2 separate regions of the Homo sapiens genome follow, and region 2 is linked to region 1. Evidence: promoter capture Hi-C in human tissues and cell types (Jung and others, 2019). All regions are on one chromosome and are shown on one strand. The core of a region is centred on a gene start or on the middle of the fragment in contact, and the rest is flanking DNA. Distances in the headings are between cores, read along the strand shown. Region 1 holds the start of FGF2 (fibroblast growth factor 2). Region 2 overlaps FGF2 (fibroblast growth factor 2).

Evidence for each region. The method cuts DNA at HindIII sites, captures the fragments that hold promoters and counts their contacts. A contact is called where the count stands out against the background at its distance.
Region 2: a fragment that was not itself captured here is called in contact with the fragment with the promoter of FGF2 in region 1 in 5 of the 25 tissues and cell types used here (IMR-90 fibroblasts, aorta, hippocampus and 2 more).

What each region holds. Positions count from the first base shown.
Region 1 is chr4:122,823,938-122,829,466 of GRCh38, reverse strand. It overlaps FGF2 (fibroblast growth factor 2), which reads right to left and starts at 2,636. Exons shown (of 3, transcript NM_001361665.2): 1 at 2,115-2,636. The coding sequence starts at 2,292. RefSeq lists enhancers at 1,104-1,153, 680-1,205, 1,194-1,333, 1,206-1,731, 2,014-2,093, silencers at 1,679-1,973, 2,314-2,793, cis regulatory regions at 3,293-3,331, 3,332-3,402 and promoters at 2,459-3,426, 2,595-3,777. The HindIII fragment of the contact is 11,104 bases long and covers 1-4,790 here.
Region 2 is chr4:122,872,831-122,877,890 of GRCh38, reverse strand. FGF2 (fibroblast growth factor 2) reads right to left here. Exons shown (of 3, transcript NM_001361665.2): 2 at 1,467-1,570. Among named protein-coding and RNA genes, the nearest start is that of NUDT6, 47 kb to the left of the region's middle. The HindIII fragment of the contact is 7,042 bases long and covers 1-5,060 here.

The DNA of each region.
Region 1 (5,529 bases), core at 1,387-3,886:
GAGTTCTCAACCTGAGTACTAGTGACATTTGGGGTCAAAAATGTTTTTGTTGAGGGTATTATAATGTGTATTGTAGGATGTTCAGCAGCATCCCCGGCCTCTACCTGCCAGATGCCAGTAGCACCCTTCCAGGTTACAGCAACCAAAAATGTCTCCAGGCATTGTCAAATGTCCCCTGGGAGGCAAAATCGTCCCCATTTGAGAACCACAGAGTTAAAGTAAGATTACAAAAATGAAAACCCAACTCACAGTTAGGAAGAAAAAGTTAACGGTTGTTTTTACAACGGTGGTAATGTGGTATGCAATTCAAAATTATGTCCACTGGCTAACCTCTACATAGTTTTATTCTAAGGCGAATCGGGTATCAAAATCTTCAAAGAAAAAATGATTCAGCAACTAATAGAGTCTGAAAAAAAAAGAGTATTAGGGGAAGCCCCAAATATTAATTTAATTTAAAGGGAAATTCTTCTGTCTTCTGGTCATAATACATGCTTTTTAATAAATAATTTGTGATACTAGAAAGAACAAAACCAATTGGGACACACAGCACCTTGCCCTTGTCAGCTGAGATGGCGTAGCAGACAACTGCAGAACAAACTTCAATCACAAAGATAATTTTTTGAAATAGATGAGTTCAAGTTACCAGAATAGAGAACTAGCACTAACCCATCTAATAGGTTACAAGCATCTTTTCAGTTTTACGGGATTAAGTGATTGATAAAATTTTTAAATTATGGCAAGCCTGAAAAAAATTAAATACTTGCCTCTCTTGCAGGTTGCTATTTTGGAAGCAATAAAGACTCAGCTCATATGAAAGTGTATTGCCCATTCTTCTGCCAATTCACGTTTGGTTGTAGAATTTTCTTCTCTTCCAGCCCCCCTCCACCTCCCCTCATGACATCCCATTAGCATCCCAAGACAAAGGCAGAACTACAGGGGAGTGGCGCTGGGACCCCTGTGGGTCTTTTCTCAGGCAATGAGAGAATCAGATTCTCCACCTGGAACCCATAAAGGAAGGAACGCCATAACACACAGCTTTTAAAACACATGTTTACATACACTTACAGGAGGACAGGTTACAATATATTCTAGTCCTCTTTCTCTCACTTCAAATTCCATCAGTGTTGTAAATCGGCTCATCTTATGCCCCTTTCTTTCTCTTTCCTCTAGACCAGTGGCTCTCAAAGTGTGATGTGATCAGCATCCCCGGGGAACATGTTAGAAATGCAAATCTTCAGCCCCCACTCCAGACTTAGGGAATCCCCTAAAGTCCAAGCACTCCTTATTTAGGCCAGTGTTCTTTCTAGAACCACAAACATTGTTTCTTACAGAAAGCAAAACTGCAATTCTCATTTCATCCTCAAGCCTGCTGCAAGGTAGTAATATATTAGCCCCACGTGAGCGATGAGGAAACCGGCTCTGGGGTTAAGCGTCGGCTCAAGGTCTCAAAGCTAGTCACTGCAGGTGGAAGATTAAAGTGTTTGCACTTCTTTTCACTACTGAAACAAAGCTATGGCACTTTATTAACAACATCTGGATTTTTTGCTGGTTGGCTGGTTGGTTTTTGTTTTTGCTCTTTCAGCTTTCGTCAATTCGGAAAAATATAAAACAGAGTGGGTGAGAGTAGTGTGCCATATGCCTCGGGTCGTCCCGAGTCGGAATTTAAGGGCAGGACTCTAGAAAGGTGTTTTTCCAGTAAAGACCGTTTCGTTCTGCTGCGGTCCTTCCTGTCTTTGTCCCCGGGACAGCACGCAGCAGATAGAAGCGGCCAGAGCTGCATGGCGGGGCCGCGGGCATCCCCGACGCGACAGGTTGTCCGCGGGAAGACAGCCAGTCCGCGAGGCCCCGGCGCGCCGCGGCTCCGGGCCGGGGGTACTGGTTTACAGGGCAAATTGGCACACCCCAAAGCCCAGGGGACACCCGGGCCTACGCCGCAGCCCGGAAAGGAGGGGGTGAGTGGTGAACCCGAAACCGCCGAGGGCCGCGCGGCCAGAAACCACACGGAGCGCTAGGGTCGCAGTGAAGATCCGGGAGGAGGGTGCAGGCTGGAGGGGAGAGAGCGGGCGAGAACCCACGAAATGGAAATGAGGCGGAGAGAGCGGGTCGGCACTCACTGTGAGGGTCGCTCTTCTCCCGGACCCCGTCAACTCGGCCGTCGGGGTGGATGCGCAGGAAGAAGCCCCCGTTTTTGCAGTACAGCCGCTTGGGGTCCTTGAAGTGGCCGGGCGGGAAGGCGCCGCTGCCGCCATCCTCGGGCAAGGCGGGCAGCGTGGTGATGCTCCCGGCTGCCATGGTCCCTGCGGGGCCCGGCCGGGATCCCCGAGCCGCTGGAGCCGCGCGGGGAGCCGCCGTCCCCCGGCCCCGGCCCCGGCCTCCGACCCGCTCCGGGGCACGGCCCCGGCCCCGGCCCCCCAGCCTCCCGCCCGGCAGCGCGCGGCCGCGCCCGCGGTCCCCCAGCCTCGAGCCGCTCGGCCGCTCTTCTGTCCGCCGGCCCCTGGTGCGCGGCGAGCCGGCGGCCCGGGACCTGGGGTTCACGGATGGGTGTCTCCGCGGACGCCGCCTGGGGAGAGCCGCCTCCCAAGCTGCAGCGCCCGGGATCCCGTTGCAACCGCGGGCACCGCGTCCGCTAATCTGGCACCCGCCGGGCCGCGGCGTCACATCTTCTACATCTCCACCCCCCACACCCACCAGCCTCCCGCGCCCCCAGTTCTCCTCCCTCCTGCGCGCCGCCCCCTACTCGCTCGGGTTTTCTGGGGCCGGCCTCTGAGTTCGGCGGTTCGGCCACAACACGCAAGCGCGCGACATCAGTCCGGCGGGGAGCCCGGCCTCAGTCGGGGGCGGGGGAGAGGCGAGGGGCGGGGGGCGCGCGTCGGAGGCCGCGGCAGGGCTTTGGCATTCCCTGGGCTCCACCGCCCCTTATCCCCCAAAAGTCACCCCCGCCCAACCCCCGCACCACCCAAACCACGTTTAGGCTTTCTCCACACTGCGGGGCTTTTGCTGCGCAACCAGCCGTGACTCAACTTTTAAAAGTTTAAACTCAACTTTCTCCCCCATTTTTTCCCCGCTAGCGTTTCAAAACGGAGAAGCCGTTTCCACCCCAAAGTAGAGAAGTTGCAATCCAAGGAAGAGTCTGTGTCAGAGCAGGCTTTGAAAATCTCTAAATCACCAAAAGACGAGGGGTACAAGTGGGGCATAAACTTTAAAATTAAAGGACAGAGGCTGAAGTCGTCTACCAACAAAAGGAGAGAAAGAGGCCAGAGAAGGGGAGCAGATTGGGTTGCTAAAACGAAAAGGTTTCCTTTACTGACCTATCTTGAATTAGACGACGCAGAAAGATGAGGATGGGGATAAGGATAAATCCTTATCGCGATCGAAGCGCATTAATGTCTTAACTCGGACCTGGCATTTGCCCTAGCTAAATTGTTATGCATTTCTTGGAGAGAGAGTTATTTTCTGTAAATCCCAAATGTAAAATTGAAGTTAATTGCATTTTGGTAATTTTCAGTAGGATATAGCAGGTGCCACAGATGACTAGGAAAATATCTATTCAGAAAACTTGCATGTATTGAGTACCTACTGTGTGCAACACATAATGTTGAGTGTGTGGGAGATGCCAAATCTGATGCCAGCGTCTCACACACTGAGGGAGATAAGATGGGTAGCATGAGTAACACAAATAGCAGTAGAAAGTAGGCCATAGAAGAGTAAGACTAAGTGCTGTGACATTTCAGACATCGGATAACTCAGCGTGGGGAGGCAGGAGATTTGGGGAAGCTTCTAGAAGGAGTTGCAAGTATGGACGTGCCTCCTTGTAGAAACATTAGGTTTCAAAAGGCCATGCATAAGTGCATTTGTTCTTAAGTCTCCAAGAAGGCTTTAACTCCAGATGCATTTCTAGAATGTTACATACAGGAGAATGAGTAAATTCTTTGAAGCTTTAAAACCAGGCATACTGTTTTTATTTTTATTATTTATTTATTTTTTTTAGACAGAGTTTTGCTCTTGTTGCCCAGGCTGGAGATCAATGGCACGATCTCGGCTCACCGCAACCTCCACCTCCTGGGTTCAAGCGATTCTCCTACTTCAGCCTACCGAATAGCTGGGATTACAGGCATGCGCCACCACCACGCAGGGCTAATTTTTTGTATTTTTAGTAGAGACGGGGTTTCTCCATGTTGGTCAGGCTGGTCTCGAACTCCCAACCTCAGGTGATCTGCCCGCCTCAGCCTCCCATAGTACTGGGATTACAGGCGTGAGCCACCGCGCCAGGCCCAAAACCAGGCATATTCTTCTTTCTTCTTGCAGTTGGTATATGTTCTATAGAGGAGGAAAAAAAAAATTTCCCCATTCATTACTAGGTTTATGGCTGAAGCCCCTGTAACAAAAGACACATTAACAAGAGAAAAACATACTAACTTATTTATGTGAGTTTTACACAAAACAGGAGACTTCAGAAATTAAGACCCAAAGTTAAGAGGGAAGCCTGTGTATTTTTAAGGCTAGGATTGATAAAGAAGTGGAAGTCATGGAGAAGTATGATTGGACAAATCTGTGATCTAATGGTAATAAACTGGGGGGACTTACTTAGCAAGGCCTATTTGCTCAGATTCTTTTCCCTGTCCGTGTGTCTTCAGAGATAAGGATGTCTGTTTCCTCCAGGTATAGGGAAGGCACCTCTGGAATGAAGGTCTTATGGTCTGCCTCAGAAGAGAAGATCTGGGGAAAGTGAAAGTAACCCTCTTGCTTCTGCTCTTTTCTTAAGTGCCAAGGTACCATTATTTTTGGGTAGCATGTCCTGAACGCCATCAGTTCTCTAACATCTCTCTCCAAAATGGATTTGTTTCATCTTCATTGAAGATCCGTCTGTTGAGACAAAATCACTCCCTCCAGATGATCTCTGTAGGTGCTACTGTGGTGCTGAGTAGTCCCTAGAATGATTGAACTCTCACTTGAACTCTGTGTCACAGAAACCTGAGGATTCCAGGAGCACGGGGATAAAATCTAAGTCATGATATTTTTTAACAATGGCATCCAGAAACCTGGGGAGCAGCTACACGCAGTAAAATAACTTGTATTCCCTACAATTCAAACAAATAATCTAATTTTCAAATGGGAAAAGATTTGAACAGACACTTCTCCAAAGAAAATATACAAATAGCCAATAAACACATGACAAGGGGCTCAACATCATTAGACATTAGAGAAATACAAATCAAAACAACAATGAGATACTACTTTACACCCACTAGGATAGCTATAATTAAGAAATAACAACAACAAAAAATAATAAGTGTTGAAGATGTGGTAAAAGTGGAACCCTCAAACATTGCTGGTGGAAAGGTAAAATGATGTAGTCAATATAAAAACAGTCTGACAGTTAACTCTAAAATTAAACAGAGTCACCAGACAACCCAGCAATTCCACTCCTAGGTATGTAGCCAAGAGAATTGGAAACATATATTCACATGAAAACATGTACATAAATGTTCATAGCAGCTTTATTCATAATAACCAAAATGTGGAAACAAG
Region 2 (5,060 bases), core at 516-3,015, 49 kb before region 1:
TTGTCATACAGTCAGTCTGAAATTGGGATAGTTTAGATACCCTTTTTCTCTGTAAGCCTTGTTTTGGTGCTTTTAGAAATCCAAAGGTCTTCATTCAGAAGAAATTTCAAAAACTATTTGTATAGCTCAAAATACCACAATTTCTTAGTACTGTTAGATCCTTTCTGTGGGGAGGTTATATAGAGATGTCATAACTGGCCAGTGGCATTGGTGTAAGAGCTGTGAAACACACACACGCACAAACATTTACATACATGTCCTATCTACTCCCTCACGGAGACAGGAATGAGATCTGTCTTTTATATTTATTTTCCTGCACCATTCTTTATACATCATATGTTCAACAGATATGCAGTCCCGTTTCTAATAATAATGGTGAAGTTGACAGGGAGCCTGTACTAGTGGAAAGAATACTAGCCAGGAACTAGGACCCCTGATAAGCTGTGATAACATGTAAAAAAGAAAAGTTCCTCTCTACAGCCAGGCACGGTGGCTCACGCCTATAATCCCAGCACTTTGGGAGGCCAAGGCAGGCGGATCACCTGAGGTCAGAAGTTCAGGACCAGCCCAGCCAACATGGCGAAACCCTGTCTCTACTAAAAAATACAAAAAAATTAACCAGGCATGGTGGTGCATTCCTGTAATCCCAGCTACTCGGGAGGCTGAGGCAGGAGAATTGCTTGAACCCAGAAGGCAGAGGGTACAGTGACCCGAGATTACGCCACTGCACTCCAGTCTGCGCAGTGGAGTGAGACTCCATCTCAAAAAAAAAAAGAAAAAAAAAAGTCCCTCTCCTGACATATATGTAAATGAGAAGTAATGTGAGGAAGAAGTAACAATTTTCAGGATCTATTACGTGTCAGATGCTGATTTGGGCACTTGATGTGTAGTATCTAATTAAATTCTGATAAAATCCCAATGAGATAGTATCATTGTTTCTATTTTACAGGTAAGAGAACTAACTCAGAATCATTTGCCCAAGAACACAGAGCTCATAAGTGGCAGAGTCGGCATCTGTACCAGGCAGAAAGCTTACATTCTCAACTAGTGTTCTACATTGCTAGTGTTTTGTACGTCACATTCTAAAGAAGAAACTTAAAAACTAATAATCAAAATTGTATACATTTATTCCCAATGATCTTCAAACAACTGCATAATAGAAGAAAATTTTTTTTAAATTATAGCTTAATAGTTTTGCAGAGTAAAAGCAGTGACTTAGAGGTCAGGAATGCCTCCAGCCCAATCCAGTCTCTACTTTATATGAGCTGTGTTTTCTTACTTTACTTACTCCCTCAGCACATCAGTTTTTGCATCTGTGAAATAAAGAAAATACTCCCTATTTTACAGGGTGACTATGACGATGATACACGTAAAATCCTTTATAAAGATTTGATAAACAACAATGCTGGTAAATTAACAGCAATAAAAGCTAACAAAAAACGTGTGAAAACAGAAAGTATGCTTACAGAAGCCAGTAATCTTCCATCTTCCTTCATAGCCAGGTAACGGTTAGCACACACTCCTTTGATAGACACAACTCCTCTCTCTTCTGCTTGAAGTTGTAGCTTGACTGTAACGGGAAAAAAAATTATCTTTGTAGCACCACAGAGGAAAGAGCCTTCTTCACAATATTTACGCAATATAAAGACAAAACACACCTAAGCAACAACTAATCCACTTTGGAGGATTGGTGAGGTTGGGGGTATGGGTGAGTGACAGGGAGCAGATGTCAACTAAACTGTATGAGAGAGGATGAGATGCAGAACTACTAGGGCACCAGTGCCTTGTGAGTTCCTTGTCGCTCCTGTGTCACAGGGTGAGCAGAGAAGGTGTCACAGGGTGAGCAGAGAAGGGGGACACACGGAGAATTGTTTCCTTTGTTGGGCAGTTAGCTTTCAATCGCCCCTGTTAACTATTTACATTTTTTAAAGTGAACATATTTTAAGGGTACATAAAAGTGTAGGAGAATTCCCATGCTACTGCCTATGTTGAAACTATTTAAAAGTTATTTGCCAATTCTTCACAAATGAAACAAAATCTAGTTATTCACTGTTATAATTTGAGCTGTATTTCCTTGACTTTTTGAGACGGAGTCTCTCTCTGTCACCCAGGCTGGAGTGCAGTGGCACAATCACGGCTCACTGCAACCTCTGCCTCCCAGGTTCACACCATTCTCCTGCCTCAGTCTCCCAAGTAGCTGGGACTACAGATGCCCACCACCACGCCCAGCTAATTTTTTGTATTTTTAGTAGAGACGCGGTTTCACCATGTTAGCCAGATGGTCTCGATCTCCTGACCTCGTGACCCACCTGCCTTGGCCTCCCAAAGTGCTGGGATTACAGGCATGAGCCACCGCGCCCGGCCCTATTTCTTTGACTTCTACACATCTTATTTCTAGCTTCCTCTTCAATGAACTATAGATGCATTTAGCTTTCTATATGGGATTTTGATGTCTATTTTTTTGTGTGCAAATATCTATCTAGTGGAAACACAAAATGCTTATACTTAATTTGCTTACACAGCAAATGATTTTCATAAAATAAGTGTGATGAAAGATTTTCATAAAATAAGATCCTGAGAAAGATGACTTGTCACACCACATTATCAATATTAAGCAGATTACAGAAAAACAAAAAAAAATTACTTAATTATGATGATAATGTAATATGGACAAATAATTACCTAATTAATTGAAATAAAAATGAAGTAAAGATTATTTTGCTATTCAGAGGCAGCATTCTCCTGCCTAGAACAATATTCCCCCAAATATATTTTTGCTAACAGATGTTAAATAAAAAATAGGTTCTGGTGTCAAATAATTTAGGAAAATCTTAGTTAAACCAAGTTAACTCTTTATTACCAAACTTCTCAGAACTCTGCTTATCATAAGATAAACAAGATAAATGTTTGTCCAGACTATTTTCATAGGTCATCCCACATCCTATGGATATGTTTAGGATATTCTTGAGAGCAACAGAAAAAAATGCAATTTTAGAAATCAGCATATTATCATTTGAATAACATTAGAAATATAAAATAAATATAATTTCCAGGTGTTTATAGGTAGCTAGGGAAACGGCATGAAAAAGCAACTTTTGAAAGTTTCTTAAATAATTAACTTTGTTAGATATCATTATGTCATAGTAATTTATGTTTTAAAATTTTTCCTACCAAGACAGCAACAGACATGCAAAATGAAACATAATATCTGGGATTAGCTTTAAAATAAGCTAATATATTATTTTAAATAATAGATAACTAAATTTTTAATAAAGTGGATAGGATAAATAAGATTCACTTGTGTTAACAGTCATTAGAAGCACAGGATTTCATTATTCTAATCTCACTACTTTTATGAATGTTTAAGAATTTACAATTTAAAAAAAAGACAATCTTAGAATTTTGTTGAACATTTCATGTCTGAGTCACCTCTGTGTGTCAGTCACCCCTGGATTCCAGAAAGCATTGCATCATTTAAGCCTACAGTTACCCAAGTGAAATTCTTCTACAAAATCTTAAAAGATAATACGAAGTAAAAGGAATGTAATGAAGACATGAAACCCAAACAATGAAGGGTATGAAGTATTTTTTACAATATTATTGGAAAATGCAGAAAATAAGCTTTGTTTTTAATCAACATAACCAAACTTATCTTAATGAGTATAAGCAAATTATTGCATACAGCTCTAAAATGATTCAGATAAGCCATTTTAATGAAGAATGCATTTGCATCTCACTTTAACTCATAAGGATGTACAAATGCCCATGAGGCAAGGCTGAATAATCAATCGCTATACTTTCTTTCTGTCCCTTATCAATCAACGCTAGCCCAGCTCTGGTCCACCATCTTATAAATGTGTATTACTAGTCATGAGGGTGATTAGGGATATTCGTGTATGGCCAGATCAGTACCAGTGACTCAATACCCAAAGTAAACATAATTCATTTACTCATTAACCTTTTGTAGACCTCAACTATTCCCACACTCAGGGATTGTTGTCATTCATTAAACCACTAAGCAATAAGCATTACATGTAAGATTCTTGAAGAGTGTTTCCATTGGCATATAATTTTTAAATTACAAGTTTTAAAAATAACCAGAGTCTACAACAAGAAGTTGAGGAAGTCACAAAATCATAGATTTTCTATAAAAACTATCTGAGCTGAGATGCATAAAAAACCTAAATAAACTAAATTCAATATACAGATGATCTCTTCCCAAAATAGAGATGCATAGCTGCTTCATCTCCTAAATAAATTCGATATACAGATGACCTCTTCCCAAAAAAGAGATGCATAGCTGCTTCATCTCTGATAGAAGGAGGAATAAACTTGCCAAAAATGGGACCACGAAGAAACCAGCTGAATTTTTAAGAAACTTTTATTAGCTGCTGATGTGAGGAATTAGAATTCTGAAGAGCCCTGATCAAAGAGCAACTCCATATCCACCTGCCAGTTCTTTCCCATAGAGCTTCCACCCAGTGCACAAGTACCACACACCAAAGGCTAGGAACAGAACAGAAGGGCTAAGAGATCCTCTTCAAGTACACTGGGCCTTTGCAGAATGCAAGGCAGCAGTCCACTGAAGGCTGGGAGCAGGTCAAAGGGCTGAAAGTGATCCTTCTGAGAAGCACTGAGCCTTCACCAAATGCAAAGCCAATGACCAGCAGGATAAAGAGAGATCTTCCAAGATGTGGAAAGCCAGGAGTACAGTTCAAGAGCAAGGTTAGCTCCCCACCAACCCAAACATTTGGCAGCTGAGTTATAAGGGCAAAATGAAATATTTTAAAACTACTCAATTAACCCAAGAAGGCAGAAAGGGAAAGACAGAAGGTAAAGGACAGATAGGATAATTAGAAAAATAGCAAAATGTGTGAATTTGATTCTGTCGTCATGCTGCTATTTGGTTATTTTGCACACTAGCTGATGCAGTTTCTTCATAGTGTCATTGGTCTTTATATTTTGGTGTGTTTTTTGCAGTGACTGGTACCGGTTTTTCCTTTCCATATTGAGTGCTCCTTTCAGGAGCTCCGGTAAGGCAGGCCTGGTGGTGACAAAAT